Linked DNA regions of Homo sapiens: region 2 is linked to region 1. Evidence: promoter capture Hi-C in 16 types of primary human blood cells and fetal thymus (Javierre and others, 2016). All regions are on one chromosome and are shown on one strand. Each heading gives the region's core, a stretch centred on a gene start or on the middle of the fragment in contact. The rest is flanking DNA. Distances are from core to core; before and after follow the strand shown. Region 1 holds the start of TXNDC15 (thioredoxin domain containing 15). Region 2 holds the start of ZCCHC10 (zinc finger CCHC-type containing 10).

Region 1 (7,245 bases), core at 2,579-5,078:
GGTTCATACCTGTAATCCTAACACTTTGGGAGGCCAAGGCAGGCAGATTACTTGAGGTCAGGAATTCAAGACCAGCCTGGCCAACATGGTGAAACCCCATCTCTACTAAAAAATACAAAAATTAGGCCAGGCGCAGTGGCTCACGCCTGTAATCCCAGCACTTTGGGAGGTCAAGGCGGGCAGATCACCTGAGGTCAGGAGTTCGAGACCAGCCTGGCCAACATGGCGAAACCCCATCTCTACTAAAAATACCAAAAATTAGCCGGGGTGTAGTGACGGGTGCCTGTAATCCCAGCTACTCAGGAAGCTGAGACAAGAGAATCGCTTGAACCCGGGAGGCAGAGGTTGCAATGAGCCAAGATCGCACCATTGCTCCAGCCTGAGCAACAAGAGCAAAACTCCATCTCAAAAAAAAAAAAAAAAATTAGCCAGGCATGGTGGCGCATGCCTGTAATCCCAGCTACTCGGGAGGCTGAGGCAGGAGAATCATTTGAACCCAGGAGGTGGAGGTTGCAGTGAGCCAAGATGGTGCCACTGCACTCCAGCCTGGGTGACAAGAGCAAGACTCCTTCTCAAAAAGAAAAAAAAAAATTTCACCTGCTAAACACATTCACAATCCATCTACTTTCCCCATCCCAACTAACACTTCTCAGCAAAGGCCACAGCCAATTCTTGTCTGGGCAACTACTGTAGCCACCTAAACTGGTCTCCCTGGTCAGCCTGCTATCCCCCCTCCAGACCCTGACCTTCACAGCAATACAAGTGAAACTGAAAGATAAAAGGCATATCTGATCATGTCACTCCCCTGCTAAAACTCTTTCAGTGGCTTCCCCTACCCTGTGAATGCATCTGCATTCTGTAGCAGAGCTACCAGGCCCCAATGTGGCCTCTGTCTGCACTCTCACCTGTGGCCATCAGATCCCTCTAGTCCCTGATCATTTACACTCCTCCTATCCCCACCTGCCTTAGAGCCTTCCTGAGGGCTGTTTCTCTGCTGGGAAGCTTCCTCCTGCCAAATCCTTCATCCTCCTCATTCAGATCTCACCCTAAATGTCACCTCTGTAAGGACACATTCCCTGACCCTCAGACCAGGGTGGGAGGTCTCCCATTACAGTTCCCAAAAACGCCCTGGGACTCTCCTTGATGCATTTCTCAGTCTTGCAATTTTCTTAGTAATTTGTAGTTATTTAGTGGCTGCCTTCCCCAAAGGCCTGCTGCTCTAACTCACCACTGGATCCCCAGTGCTCAGCACAGTGTTTAGCATATGATGAGTGCTCAGTAAGAATTTGCTAGCTGACTGCCTAGGGAAGAGTGGCATAGGGGTATTGAAGCCAGGAGTTTGCTTCCATTCCTAGACACCTGGATAGCATTGCTACCTCCAGGTTGCTTAGTCTCTCAGGGCCTCAGCACCTGAGGCCAGCATAATCTGCCAGTGGCATCCTCTGCAGAAAAAAAAAAAAAAAAAACACCTCAGATTTTCAGCTACTCTGAGAAGAAATCAGCTGGTGAAGTTTCTTCTGTCTTCACCCCATTCATGGCCTGGCCATGATGACCAAAGACCCAAGCTGAACCCTGAATCAGCCAGGGTTCTGCCAGGAAACAGCACATTTAACTTGGGCAAGTTGAGGAGAGTTTAATGAAGGGACCACTAATGTGTAGGCTGGGTGCAGAGAAATGAAAAGCAATGGTAAGGAATTCCAAGGCCAGTAACAGTAGAGGAGGAGCCAGTTACCACTCATAGACCTTAAGAGTCTGGAGAGAGAAGTAGTCACAGAACCTTGAAACATCAAGGGTAACACAGAGGGCAGCTTTCTAGAATTCAATGCTTTCCACCGGGGGCAAAGCCAGCCTTCAATAACTTCTCAGGGAGGGAGCGGAGAGAATCAATACCCTGACCTCACTCTCCCCTCATTCCAACACAATGGAAGCAAGACGGTAGGACAGCTGGTATTTATTCCACACAGGACAGCCACACAGGGCACAGAGCACGGTGGAGGGGCTGAAACAGAAGATATCCAACCCATGCCATCCCCTCTGTGAGGCTAGCAGTTAAGTATAGTGAAAATGCAGAGGTTGGGCTCTGAAGTCAGGCAGACATGGGCTTGAATCAAGGCTCCTCAACTTCTGGCTGTATGACCTTGTCAAAGGACTTATTGGCTCTGAGTCTTAAGTTACTTCTATAAAATGAGCATGATAACATCTACTGCATATGCATTTAAAAATTACTAAGGCCAGGCACGGTGGCTCAAGCCTGTAATCCCAGCACTCTGGGAGGCCGAGGTGGGTGGATCACCTGAGGTCAGGAGTTCCAGACCAGCGTGGCCAACATGGTGGACCATCATCTCTACTAAAAATACAAAAATTAGCCCAGTGTGGTGGCAGGCACCTGTAATCCCAGCTACTCAGGAGGCTGAGGCACGAGAATCGCTTGAACCCGGGAGTCAGAGGTTGCAGTGAGCCAAGATCGCGCCACTGCACTCCAGCCTGGGCAACAGAGCGAGACTCCATCTCAAAAAAAAATAAAAATAAAAATTACATAAACCGGGAGCAGTGGCTCACATCTGTAATCCCAGCACTTTGGGAAACAGGTGGGAGGATCACTTAAGCCCAGGAGTTCAAGGCTGCAGGGAGCCATGATGGGCCACTGCACTCCCGCCTGGGCAACAGAGCAAGCCCTCATCCCTTAAAAAAACAAAAACAAAACAGTAAAGATTCCAAAAGATGATGCTCGTAAAGCACTGAGCACAGCATCTGGTACACAGTGAGCGCTTTCATTCATGGTAATTGTGTTACTATGACTCACCCTTCTCCACAACTCTCTGCTGTCCTGCCTCCATCCAGGACACCCCAGGGAAAAGAAAGACCTGCCTATTCCTGTTAAGGTCTAAATGACAAGCGAGACCGAGGGTCTGGACTTTAACAGGACTATGAGGAGTGGGGTGAAGGAGCATGAAAGTAAGGCCTCCACTCTCCACCCTCGCCATGCCTCTAGAGTGGCTGCCTTCCCTACCGGCAAGTTGGGGGTTACCGGGAGTCTCCCGTGTTTCTCGTCTGTTTTTCATGCAGGGAGCTGAGCAAGACTGGCCTCCTTAAGACAGTGGTCCAGCAGCGTGGACTCCAGACTGGGCTTTGGCGTCAGAGAGACAGGCTTCTGCCACGTATCAGAAGCGCAAACTTAGGCGGGGCCTGAGCATCTTCATCTGTGAAATGGAGACACTAAACGGAACCGATCTGACAGGGTTTGTGGGAGCATTAAATGGGATAATGATGTAAATAAAGCACGATGCACAGTTCCTGGCTCCTAATACGGCCACAACAATGTCGGTATTTGATATAATGTTATTAATAATAAATTGCTTATCACCAGAGGGTATGCCTCAGCAGCGCTTACCGCACTGTCCCTCCTGGCTACCAGCCACGGGCTGAGGGCGGCCTGAACGCGGCCCAACCACCCCCGGGCTCCCGTCCACCGGCCCTCAGCCCACCGGCCCCCTTTCGCGGGCCACCAGCGGGCGGTGCGCGGGGAGAGAAGTCGGGGAGACGCGCCCGGGGAGACGCCAAGAAGGGGCGAGTCGCGCACCGCCGGCCTTCGCGCAGGTCCAGAGCGTCGCCCGGGTGGACCTCAGCTCGCCCCATCATCTCATGCACCGCCCCCGGCCCACACTCACCCTCCACGCCGCGGACGGGAAGTCCCAGCACCCACAGCAATACTTGCCACCAGCCGAGGAGCCGCATGACGCGGGGCGGTCGTCGACCGGCAGCCGGGACCATTGCCCAGGCCGAGAGGCAATCGGCGCACGGCTACGCGAGTCGTGCTGCCAGCCGGAGGAAGGCTGGGGGAGGAGAGCCTGGGAGCGCGGGCGCGGCCCCGCGCCGCCATCTTAACACCTGGCAGCTGTGGCGGGCGCCATCTTGGAGTCGGGCGGACGGCCTCTAGCCGCTGGCCGTCGGCGCTGGACTGGAGACCTCTTTAGGAGCTAAGCGCCAGACGTTGCAGGTCGTTTTGAACTCTGCTGACCCCAGAGTGCAGAGCATGGCTCTGGCAGAGGCCCATGGCCTCCTTTCTTCCCTCGGAAGTCAGAGCTTGGCTACTTGAAGCACTGCGCCCGCCTAAGGAGGGTTTTCCACGCTTCATTCCCAGAGCCAGAAAGGCCCAGGAGCCTTCCTGTTCTAGTGTCCCATCGAGGTGCAGAAACTTTGGAGGCTGCAAATCTTCTAATCGCTTGCCTAACCTGTGCTCCCCTACCTAGGGTTGCCACATAGAATACCTGATACCCAGTTATATTTGAATTTCACATAATGAATATTTTTTACTATAACCCTTATAGTATAAGGGATATACCTTAAAACTGAGCATCCTGTAACTTCGTGACATCTGGCAACCCTAACCCTACCTATCCACTCAGGGCAGGAGAGGTTGGTTTTAACTGATTTACCTTGCAGGGCAATCTCTTTTTAATCATGGTTGGGGCCGTGAGCATCATTGGCTCTGGCTCATGGTGGAGGTGGAGCCACCTCGAGCATAAAGTAGATAGGAAAGGGCTTAGAATGAAGAAAGCATAGATGGGGAGATGAGGAACAGGGCTCTGCATTCCCAAGCAAACGCACAGAGCGGGAGTCTTAAGAGAAAATTCTTGGAATAGAGAGGATGACACCACTAATTGGGGTATTTTGCCGGGGGGCCTGCTAAAATGGAATAAGGCAAGCTTTAAGCAGCCACCAGTCAGTGCTAAATCAGTGCAGAGTGCAGCTTTTCAAACTTATGAGGTTGAAAAAATAGAAACTGATTTAAAATACATCAGTCTATTGGTTAACATAGCAATGGTAAGGGGAACCTGTGCTTTTTGGCCGCTTGGTGAATCCCAACTTCAGCACATGTGATAGTTCACAGTCAGCAGGTTATGTAACTTAAAGTTAAGTTTCTTCAGCTGTAAAGTGGAAATGACGTTATATAGAGTCTTATAGATGAAATGAGATGTAAAGTGATGAGCACAGTGTCCTGGGGCACAGGAAGCATTTCAAAGTGGTAGGCATTATTAATTGAATAATACAATTCTGATGGTGTGGCCATAGTCCCCTTATCTCTATGCCCATCAAAAAGACACTGTTAGGCCAGAAAGATGCATCATTAATCTGTCCCTGTGGATGATTCTTTTATTCTAAATACGTTGGTATGGTTTTGCTGTTGTAGATCCTCAAGTGCCATCTTGTGGGTCCAGAAGAATATGAAACAATGGACATGGATAAAAGAGCCCACAGTTCTAGAGCTTATTACTAGTCATCATTTCGCTAAGTACCTCCCTCACCCCTAACAGTGGAACAACAAACCTTTCCTTTTTAAACTATCTTTCTCATACCCCCATACATGATTTGAAGGTGCATGAAAAGCCAACAGGACAGAGCACCAAAAGGATTTATGACTAATGAAAAGGAAGCTGATCTGGATACTCCAACATGGATGCCCTGTGGTTACTACTCCTTCCTTTTTATTATCTCCTTTCCTTTCCTGTATGTGTGTTTGTTTGATTTTTTTATTTTTTGAGACAAGAGTTTCGCTCTTGTTGCCCAGGCTGGAGTGCAATGGCGCGATCTTGGCTCACTGCAATCTCCACCTCCCCGGGTTCAAGCAATTCTCCTATCTCAGCCTCCCAAGTAGCTGGGATTACAGGCATGCGCCACCACGCCCGACTAATTTTATATTTTTAGTAGAGATGGGGTTTCACCATGTTGGTCAGACTGGTCTCAAACTCCTGACCTCAGGTGATCCACCCGCCTTGGCCTCCCAAAGTGTTGGGATTACAGGCATGAGCCACTGCGCCCGGCCCCTTCCTGTGTTTTTACTTTAGCTCTGTGTTTGGGACAGATACGCTTACAGATGTTAGAATTAGATGTTAGAATTGGATGTTAGAATTGTCTTTCAATTTTTTTTTTTTTTTAGGCACAGTCTCGCTGTCACCCAGGTGCAATTGCTCAGTTATGGCTCATTGCAGCCACAACCCCTTGGGCTCAAGCGATCTTCCCACCCCGTTTTTAAATTTTTTTCTAGAGATGAGGTCTCACTGTTTGACCCAGTTTGATTTCAAACTCCTGGGCTCAAGCAGTCCTCCCGCCTCGGCCTCCCAAAGGGCTGGGATTACAGGCTTGAGCGTCTTTGAATAAATACTGTATATACCCCCTCTAATGACAACAAATGTAGTCCACAGGTTAGAATCCTTATTTAACTGTCTCACCACCAACGTGCACTTCTTTTCAGTGAGAAAACTGCCTTCACAATTGTCCTGGTTTCTATCAAATTTCTGGGGGTGAGGAAAGAAAAGCTGACATTATTCTCTTCCTTTGGCTGAAATTAAATCCGCCAAATTTGTCTTGCTATCTCAAAAGGCCTTTCTGTGAGTCTGGGACATCTTATATCAAAATGCAAAACTTAAATATATAAGTAAATAAATAAATAAAAGAATACCAGGGTACTACGGTCATTTAGAATGACTGAGGAACCAAACTGGCTCCTACTTGCCAAAGATGGGATGATTTGAGCATAAAAATGAAAAATTTCAATAGACTGAAATACACTGCATATGTTAACATCTATGAGTTCACACTGCTAACAAAATTTTTTTAAAACTAGTCGGCCGGGCGCAGTGGCTCATGCCTGTAATCCCAGCACTTTGGGAGGCCGAGGCGTACTGATCACCTGAGGTCAGGAATTCAAGACCAGCCTGACCAACATGGAAAAACCCCGTCTCTACTAAAAATACAAAATTAGCTGGGCATAGTGGCTGCATGCCTGTAATCCCAGCTACTCAGGAGGCTGAGGCAGGAGAATCGCTTGAAACCGAAAGGCGGAGGTTGTGGTGAGCCGAGATCACGCCATTGCACTCCAGCCTGGGCAACAAGAGCGAAATTCCATCTCAAAAAAAAAAAAAAAAAAGAGAATGTAATTGGATTACTTGTAAATCAAGGATAAATTCTCGAGCGGATGGATACTCCAATCTCCCTGATATGCTTATTTCACATTGCATGCCTGTATCCAAACATCTCTGGGCCAGGCGCGGTGGCTCAACCCTGTAATCCCAGCAGTTTAGGAGGCCAAGGTGAGCAGATCACTTGAGGCCAGGAGTTCGAGACCAGCCTGACCAACATGGTGAAACCCCATCTCTACTAAAAAATACAATAATTAGCCGGGCATGGTGGCCCATGCTTGTAATCCCTGCTACCCAGAAGGATGAGGCAGGAGAATCACTTAAA
Region 2 (7,245 bases), core at 1,543-4,042, 1.8 Mb after region 1:
GAAAACATTTTCATAAGTACACTGAGGAATGAAAAAATCAAGCTGGAGAACACAACATGTAAGAGCCTATTTTTTTGAAGAACAAGTTGTGCTCAAAGGTCACATCATCACCTTCCCTAACTCCTAATCACTCTTTAATCCCTTACTCTGAAATATTTTTCGTTAGAGTACTTATGCCCATGAGAATAGTCTTCATTCATTGTCTGTAGAAAGTTCCATGTGTACACGGATTTTATTTGTTCAAATGCTCTGTCCTCAGCTCCTAAAACATTTTAAGTGTTAATTATTAATTGAAAAAATATGGCTGGGCGCGGTGGCTCACGCCTGTAATCCCAGCACTTTAGGAGGCCGAGGCGGGCGGATTATGAGGTCAGGAGATCGAGACCATCCTGGCCAACATGGTGAAACCCTGTCTCTAGTAAAAATACAAAAATTAGCTGGGCATGGTGGCGCGTGCTTGTCATCCCAGCTATTCGGGAGTGTGAGACAAGAGAATCTCTTGAACCAGGGACCCAGAGGTTGCACTGAGCCGAGATCGCGCCACTGCACTCCAGCCTGGCGACACAGCGAGACTCTGTCTCAAATTAAAAAAAAAAGGAAAAAATATGGATGACCCAGAAACACACACACACTTCAGAAAATTATATATATTTCAGAGAACGTGGGTTTTAAGAGAATAATAGCTCCGTGAGCTGACATTAGATGTAGGTGCAGCTAAAATATTCTAAAATATTTGTATAGTCCTTTTCTGCTTGATAAAGCAGCTTTAGTTATACAGTCCCATTTAGTACTCGTAACAACGCTGTGAAATACATAAAAAACAGAAATAACGTATATGTTTGCACTCCATGGCTTGCTAAAGTCATTCTTTCAATTGATGGTCTCAATCCTGGTCAACTAATTCCTTTCTATTCTCCAGACTACTTCTAGTTTTCTGAACACCAAAGTTTCATTCTTTGTCTTTGTATGTGTATCCCTCGTTCGAGAATGTTGTCCTCATTTTCCACAGATAATGTTCTTGCCTGTAATCATCCTTTGAAACCCTGTTCGGCCCGAGAACCCGAGACCCATACTGGAGACACCGGCCCCTCCCGACCCACCAGTCCCTCCCGTCCCGACCCTCCAGCCCCTCCAGCCCCTCCCCTCCCGACCCTCCAGCCCCTCCCCTCCCGACCCTCCAGCCCCTCCCCTCCCGACCCACCAGCCGGCACTAAGATACCTCCCCTTAGAAGCCTGTCTGGCCCCGCCTACGTCTACGGCCTCCCGGTTGGAAGCCCCGCCCTTCCGAGGAGTTTCCCAAAACCCTGCGCGGCCGGCTTTGACCGCGCTAAGATGGCGACTCCCATGCATCGGCTAATAGCCCGGAGACAAGCGTAAGTAAGGATCCGGTTCGGGTCCACTGGAGGGCTGGGAGCGGGGAAACGCGCGTCAACGGGCTGGTGTCGGACCCCTATTGGGACCGGCGGAGAATGTCCGTTTCTCAAACACTCTTCTGGCTCCCGGGGGGCTCGGGCCCGGGCGATAAGTCTGGTGACCGGGGGTTAGCGATTTCGCGGAAGACAGCCGCGTAAAGTCTGCGGCACGGGACAGAGCGGGGTTTGAAGACAACTGTCGCGTTTGGTTTCTCTGAAAGGAACGCCCACAGTTGGTCACTCAGTGATTTATGCCCCTCCGCCAACCCCACGCGTGGACAGGGGAGCCCTGAAGCCCCGGTCCGACACCTTTATTCCAGCCGACGTAAACCTTCAGTTTCCTATTCAGTGTCCAGCCCAGCTGCCTTTTCCTACTTCCTTATTCTAGCGCCTTCCTTAGGAACACCCTGCCTTCAATGCCGATTGCTTTCCCAGGCTATCTTACCACCTTTTGCTACTCATTCTCTCTTTCAATAAATATTAATTTATTTAGTTCCTACCGTTCTGTGCCAGACATTGGGTATAAATAGAGGTGTTCAAGACAAAATCCTTGCTTTCAGAGAGCTTACATTCTAGTGATGGAAACAGTCGATAAACCACAAATTGTAAATACAGCTGGTGATAACAGCTTTGAAGGAAGTAAGCTGTTGTGATGGAAAGAGGGAAAGGCCCACTTTAGGTTGGTTGGACTGGAAAGGCATCTCTGAAGAGGTGGAATTTGAACAGAGATTTAAAGGATGAAAAAGGAACAGTCATACGAGGATTTTGAGAAAGAGCATCCGGATAGTGGCATAATTGCTTTGAGCCTGAAACTTACTTTTTACAGAACTGAAAGATAGCCATTACGCCTAATGAACAAGAGAGAGTGGCAGAAGAGATTCATAGCTGACAAATAATGCAAGGGTCACCCCAGATGCCCCTTTCTTTTTTTTTTTTTTTTTTTTTTTTTTTTTTGAGGCGGAGTCTTGCTCTGTCTCCCAGGCTGGAGTGCAGAGGTGCAATCTTGGCTCACTGCAAGCTCCGCCCCCCGGGTTCACGCCGTTCCCCTGCCTCAGCCTCCCGAGTAGCTGGGACTACAGGCGCCCGCCACCATGCCCGGCTGGTTTTTTGTATTTTTAGTAGAGATGGGGTTTCACCGTGTTAGCCAGGATGGTCTCGATCCCCTGACCTCGAGATCCGCCCGCCTTGGCCTCCCAAAGTGCTGGGATTACAGGCGTGAGCTACCGCGCGCGGCAACCCCTTTCTTATAAAGCTTTTTTTTCCAACAGCCTTTGCACATCCAGACATCTGCCTCTTTTTCATAAATATTTCATGCCATCTCCATTTTCATGTCTATATGTAGCTCAGAGTCTGCTAGTATATGTATGTGTGTTTATCTGTATATCTTTTTATATTTTTTAATTCAAATAATCCCTTTTTCTTCTCCTTTCCATCTACCCTTTCAGGCCTGATAAGAAGAGTTCCTCAAATGTACAGACAGACTTAGGGAGTTAGAGTAGTAAGCTTGGTGAAGGAAGAAGGCTCGAAGTCAGACAGGTTTTTTTTGTTTTTTTTTTAGACGGAGTCTCACTCTGTTGCCCAGGCTGGAATGCAGTGGTGCGATCTTGGCTCACTGCAACCTCTGCCTCCCTGGTTCAAATGATTCTCCTGCCTCAGCCTCCCGACTAGCTGGGACTACAGGCGTCCGCCACCATGCCCTGCTAATTTTTGTATTTTTTAGTAGAGACGGGGTTTCACCATGTTGGTCAGGCTGGTCTCGAACTCCTGATGTCAAGTGATCTGCCCACCTTAGCTTCCCAAAGTACTGGGATTACAGGCATGAGCCACTGCGCCCACCATTAAGTCAGACAATTCTGAGATCAAAAATGGGATGGTGATACTTAAAGGGAGTGCTAAATGATGTCACCAGGATCCCATTTCTCCCTGTCTGTCTCTCATGCTTGCTCTTTCGTTGTTGGCTCCATATTTGGATAGGCTCTATTCTTTGCTCCCAAGATGGCTGCAGTATCCAGGGTCCTATCTATTCTCTCAGCTTCAAGTTGATTGCAGTTCTTTGGTCTAGATTGGATTACATGCCCAGTGCTAAACCATGCCTGTGGGATTGTGAAGCTCTGATTGATTTAGAGATCTTATTCTCCTTTCAGTACAATTGAATGGATGACCATAAGCCAATGATAACCAGGGTGGATAGGTCAGAGGAGTTAAATGAATGCAGGATTGGCAAAACCAATGTCCACTTTAAATATGAAGTGAAAATAAGACTTAGCATCTGAATAATACTGCTATTTCTTGTTTCAGAAGTATCAAAAGTTAAACAAATTTTTATATCTACAATATGTCTGTATTTGGTACATGAGTTACATGATTTGTAAAAGACAAATCTTACCTTTAAGGAGCTTCTGGTCTTGTTGGGAAGCAAACATGTGGCATATTATAAAAAGTGTTGTGGTATACAGAGTGTAAGTCTCCAAGGGATTCAGCAAAGGAGGGCCTTTAGAGGCTTGCGAAGTCCAAGAGAATTTGGGGGGAAAGCAGGAGAGGAGCCTTTACTTTTCATTTTATATTCATCAAAAAGGTTTAATTTTATTTACAAGGAGCATATATTACTTACATAACAACAAATTTAAAATAGTTTTTAAGTTAGTAATGAGAAATGAGAAAGCACTATCATCAATTTTTTTTTTTTGAGATGGAGTTTTGCTCTTGTTGCCCAGGCTGGAGTGCAGTGGCATGATCTTGGCTCACCGCAACCTCCACCTCCCAGGTTCAAGTGATTCTCCTGCCTCAGCCTCCTTTAGCTGGGATTACAGGCATGTGCTACCCGCCTGGCTAATTTTGTATTTTTAGTAGAGACGGGGTTTCTCCATGTTGGTCAGGCTGGTCTCGAACTTCTGACCTCAGGTAATCTGCCCACTTCAGCCTCCCAAAGTGCTGGGATTACAGGTGTGAGCCACCGCACCTGGCTTTATCGTTCTTTAAAAAAAAAAAAAAAAAAAGGTCTTTGGACTAATAGAAGAAGACGGGGAAAAAAGTCTAAATACGAACTCCTCATTCAGTAGATCTTTCGGAGACTTAACTAGTCAGTCTACTAAATCAATTGGAATGAAATAATTGATTTAATTATTTTTACCTTGTAAACTGTACTTACATCTACCTATATTAAGTAAATTATGGAGTCTAGGCATTATTTGGGGTCATTTCTTCTATTAAACCTTATATGAGATTCCACTACTCCTTCTTCAACATCCAGAGTCGTCATCAAACTTGGCTTGAAGACTTCCAGTAATGTGTACTTACCTCCTGAAGTGGCCTGTTGTGTTTTCAAATCTATCTAAAAGTTTATGTTGAGCTGAAAAACAATAATATTTATAAAGTTAAACCCCATTTCTTTCTTACTCCCTTGTTTTTGAACCTTGCTATGATTTCAGTCAGTTAAAAAACCTTGTTTTCTACCTGAATTGTCATCAAGTCAGACCTCCCCTGCCTTGTATTGATTTTCTGGACTTAAGTGTCAGACTTACCTTTGTCCTTGTTAAATTTCATCTTGTTAGATTCGACACAGAGTTGCAGCCTGTCAAGACCTTTTGGATCCTGATTCAGCCATCCATCGTTATTAGGTATCCCTCTCAGCTTTGTGTCAACTGCAGGTTTGATAAATATGTACATTTGTGTCCTCATACAAGGCATTTATAAAAATGTTGAACAAGGCCGGGGCGTGGTGGCTCATGCCTGTAATCCCAGCACTTTGGGAGGCTGAGGCAGGTGGATCACAAGGTCAAGAGATCGAGACCATCCTGGCCAACATGTTGAAACCCCATCTCTACAAAAATTACAAAAATTAGCTGGATGTGGTGGCATGCGCCTGTAGTCCCAACTACTCGGGAGGCTAGGCAGGAGAATTGCTTGAACCCGGGAGACGGAGGTTGCAGTGAGCCGAGATCTCGCCACTGCAGTCCAGCCTGGCGACAGACCGAGAGTCTGTCTCAAAAAAAAAAAAAAAGTTGAACAATACCAAACCATGCAGGCCATAACTGGATCTCTCTCTATATTGTCATGCACCACATAACAGATCCCATATATTAATTCTATGGTTGTCCCATAAGATTATAATGGAGCTAAAAAAATTTCTGTTGCCTAGTGACATCTTGATGATCCTGACCCTGTGTAGACCTAGGCTAATGTGTGTGTGTCTTAGTTTTTTACAAAAAAGTTTAAAAAGAAAAATAAATTTTAATAGAAAACAGCTTATAGAATGAAGATATAAAGAAAGAAAAAATTTTTGTACAGCTATAAATGTGTTTGTGTGTTAATGGTTATTACAAAAGAGTCAAAAAGTTTTAAACATTTATAAGTTATAAAGTAGGCCGGGTGCGGTGGCTCATGCCTGTAATCCCAGCACTTTGGGTGGCCCATGGTGGGTGGATGACCTGAGGTCCAGAGTTCAAGACCAGCTTGATCAACATGGTGAAACCCCATATCTACTAAAAATACAAAAAATTAGCCAGGTGTCGTGGCGGGCACCTGTAATTCCAGCTACTTGGGAGGCTGAGGCAGGAGAATCACTATAACCTGGGAGGCGGAGGTTGCAGTGAGCCGAGATCACACCATTGCACTCCAGCCTGGGTGACAGAGCAAGACTCTGTTTCAAAAAAAAAAAAGTTATAAAGTAAAATTGTAGTAAGCTAAGATTAATTTATTATTGAAATTTAAAAAAATTATAAATTTAGGGCAGCCTAATGTACAGTATTTATAAAGTCTATGGTAGTGTCATGATTACTGTAGCTTCATAATAAGTCTTGAATCCACGTGTTAGTCCTCTGATTTTGCTCTTTTTCAGAGTTATTTTGACTATTTTAGATTGTATTTCCAGATAAATTTTAAATTAGCTTACCAAAAGCTGCTGCGATTTCAGCTGGGATTGCATTGAGTGTACAGATCAACCTATGGAGAATTGACATCCTAACAGTATTGAGTTTTCTGATCCGTGCTTATGTATATCTCGCCATTTATTTAGGTCATCTTTAATTTCTCTTAGCAGTGTTTTGTAGTTTTCAGAGGTCTTGCACATCTTTTGTCAGATTTGTCCCTAAGTATTGTAATAGTGTTTTTTAAAAATTTTAGTTTCAAAAGGCTGGGCGCAGTAGCTCACGCCTGTAATCCCAGCACTTTGGGAGGCTGAGGTGGGCGGATCACAAGGTCAGGAGATCGAGACCATCCTGGCTAACACGGTGAAACCCTGTCTCTACTAAAAATACAAAAATTAGGCCGTGCGCGGTGGCTCACGCCTGTAATCCAGCACTTTGGGAGGCCGAGGCGGGCGGATCACGAGGTCAAAAGATCAAGACTATCCTGGCTAACACAGTGAAACCCCATCTCTACTAAAAATACAAAAAATTAGCCGGGCATGGTGGCGGGTGCCTGTAGTCCCAGCTACTCAGTAGGCTGAGGCAGGAGAATAGCGTGAAGCCGAGAGGCAGAGCTTGCAGTAAGCCGAGATTGCACCACTGCACTCCAGCCTGGGCGACAGAGCGAGACTTGTCTCAGAAAAAAAAAATAATAAATACAAAAAATTAGCCGGGCATGGTGGCGGGCGCTTGTAGTCCCAGCTACTCGGGAGGCTGAGGCAGGAGAATGGCATGAACCCGGGAGATGGAGCTTGCAGTGAGCCAATATTGCACCACTGCACTCCAGCCTGGGTGACAGAGTGAGACTCCGTCTCAAAAAAAAAAAAATTTTTAGTTTCAGTTGTTGCTGGTAGTCTTGTGTCTAATGATCTTATGTCCTCTGACCTTACTAATTTATTAGTTCTAATAGCTCTTTTTTTTTTTTTTTT

Evidence for each region. Contacts are between HindIII fragments. The CHiCAGO score rates a contact against its expected background, and 5 or more counts as called.
Region 2: a fragment that was not itself captured here is called in contact with the fragment with the promoter of TXNDC15 in region 1 in 1 of 17 cell types (total CD8 T cells); the score reaches 6.0 in total CD8 T cells.

What each region holds. Positions count from the first base shown.
Region 1 is chr5:134,870,954-134,878,198 of GRCh38, reverse strand. It overlaps TXNDC15 (thioredoxin domain containing 15), which reads right to left and starts at 3,828. Exons shown (of 5, transcript NM_024715.4): 1 at 3,669-3,828. The coding sequence starts at 3,771. LOC124901071 (a long non-coding RNA gene) reads left to right here and starts at 2,801. Exons shown (of 2, transcript XR_007058943.1): 1 at 2,801-2,955; 2 at 3,067-3,368. RefSeq lists enhancers at 723-782, 3,193-3,262, 3,156-3,861, 3,793-4,082, 4,103-4,152 and a silencer at 3,443-3,552. The HindIII fragment of the contact is 3,704 bases long and covers 1,005-4,708 here.
Region 2 is chr5:133,020,625-133,027,869 of GRCh38, reverse strand. It overlaps ZCCHC10 (zinc finger CCHC-type containing 10), which reads left to right and starts at 1,321. Exons shown (of 5, transcript NM_001300816.3): 1 at 1,321-1,373; 2 at 4,964-5,029. The coding sequence starts at 1,333. RefSeq lists a silencer at 1,042-1,171 and an enhancer at 1,252-1,561. The HindIII fragment of the contact is 251 bases long and covers 2,667-2,917 here.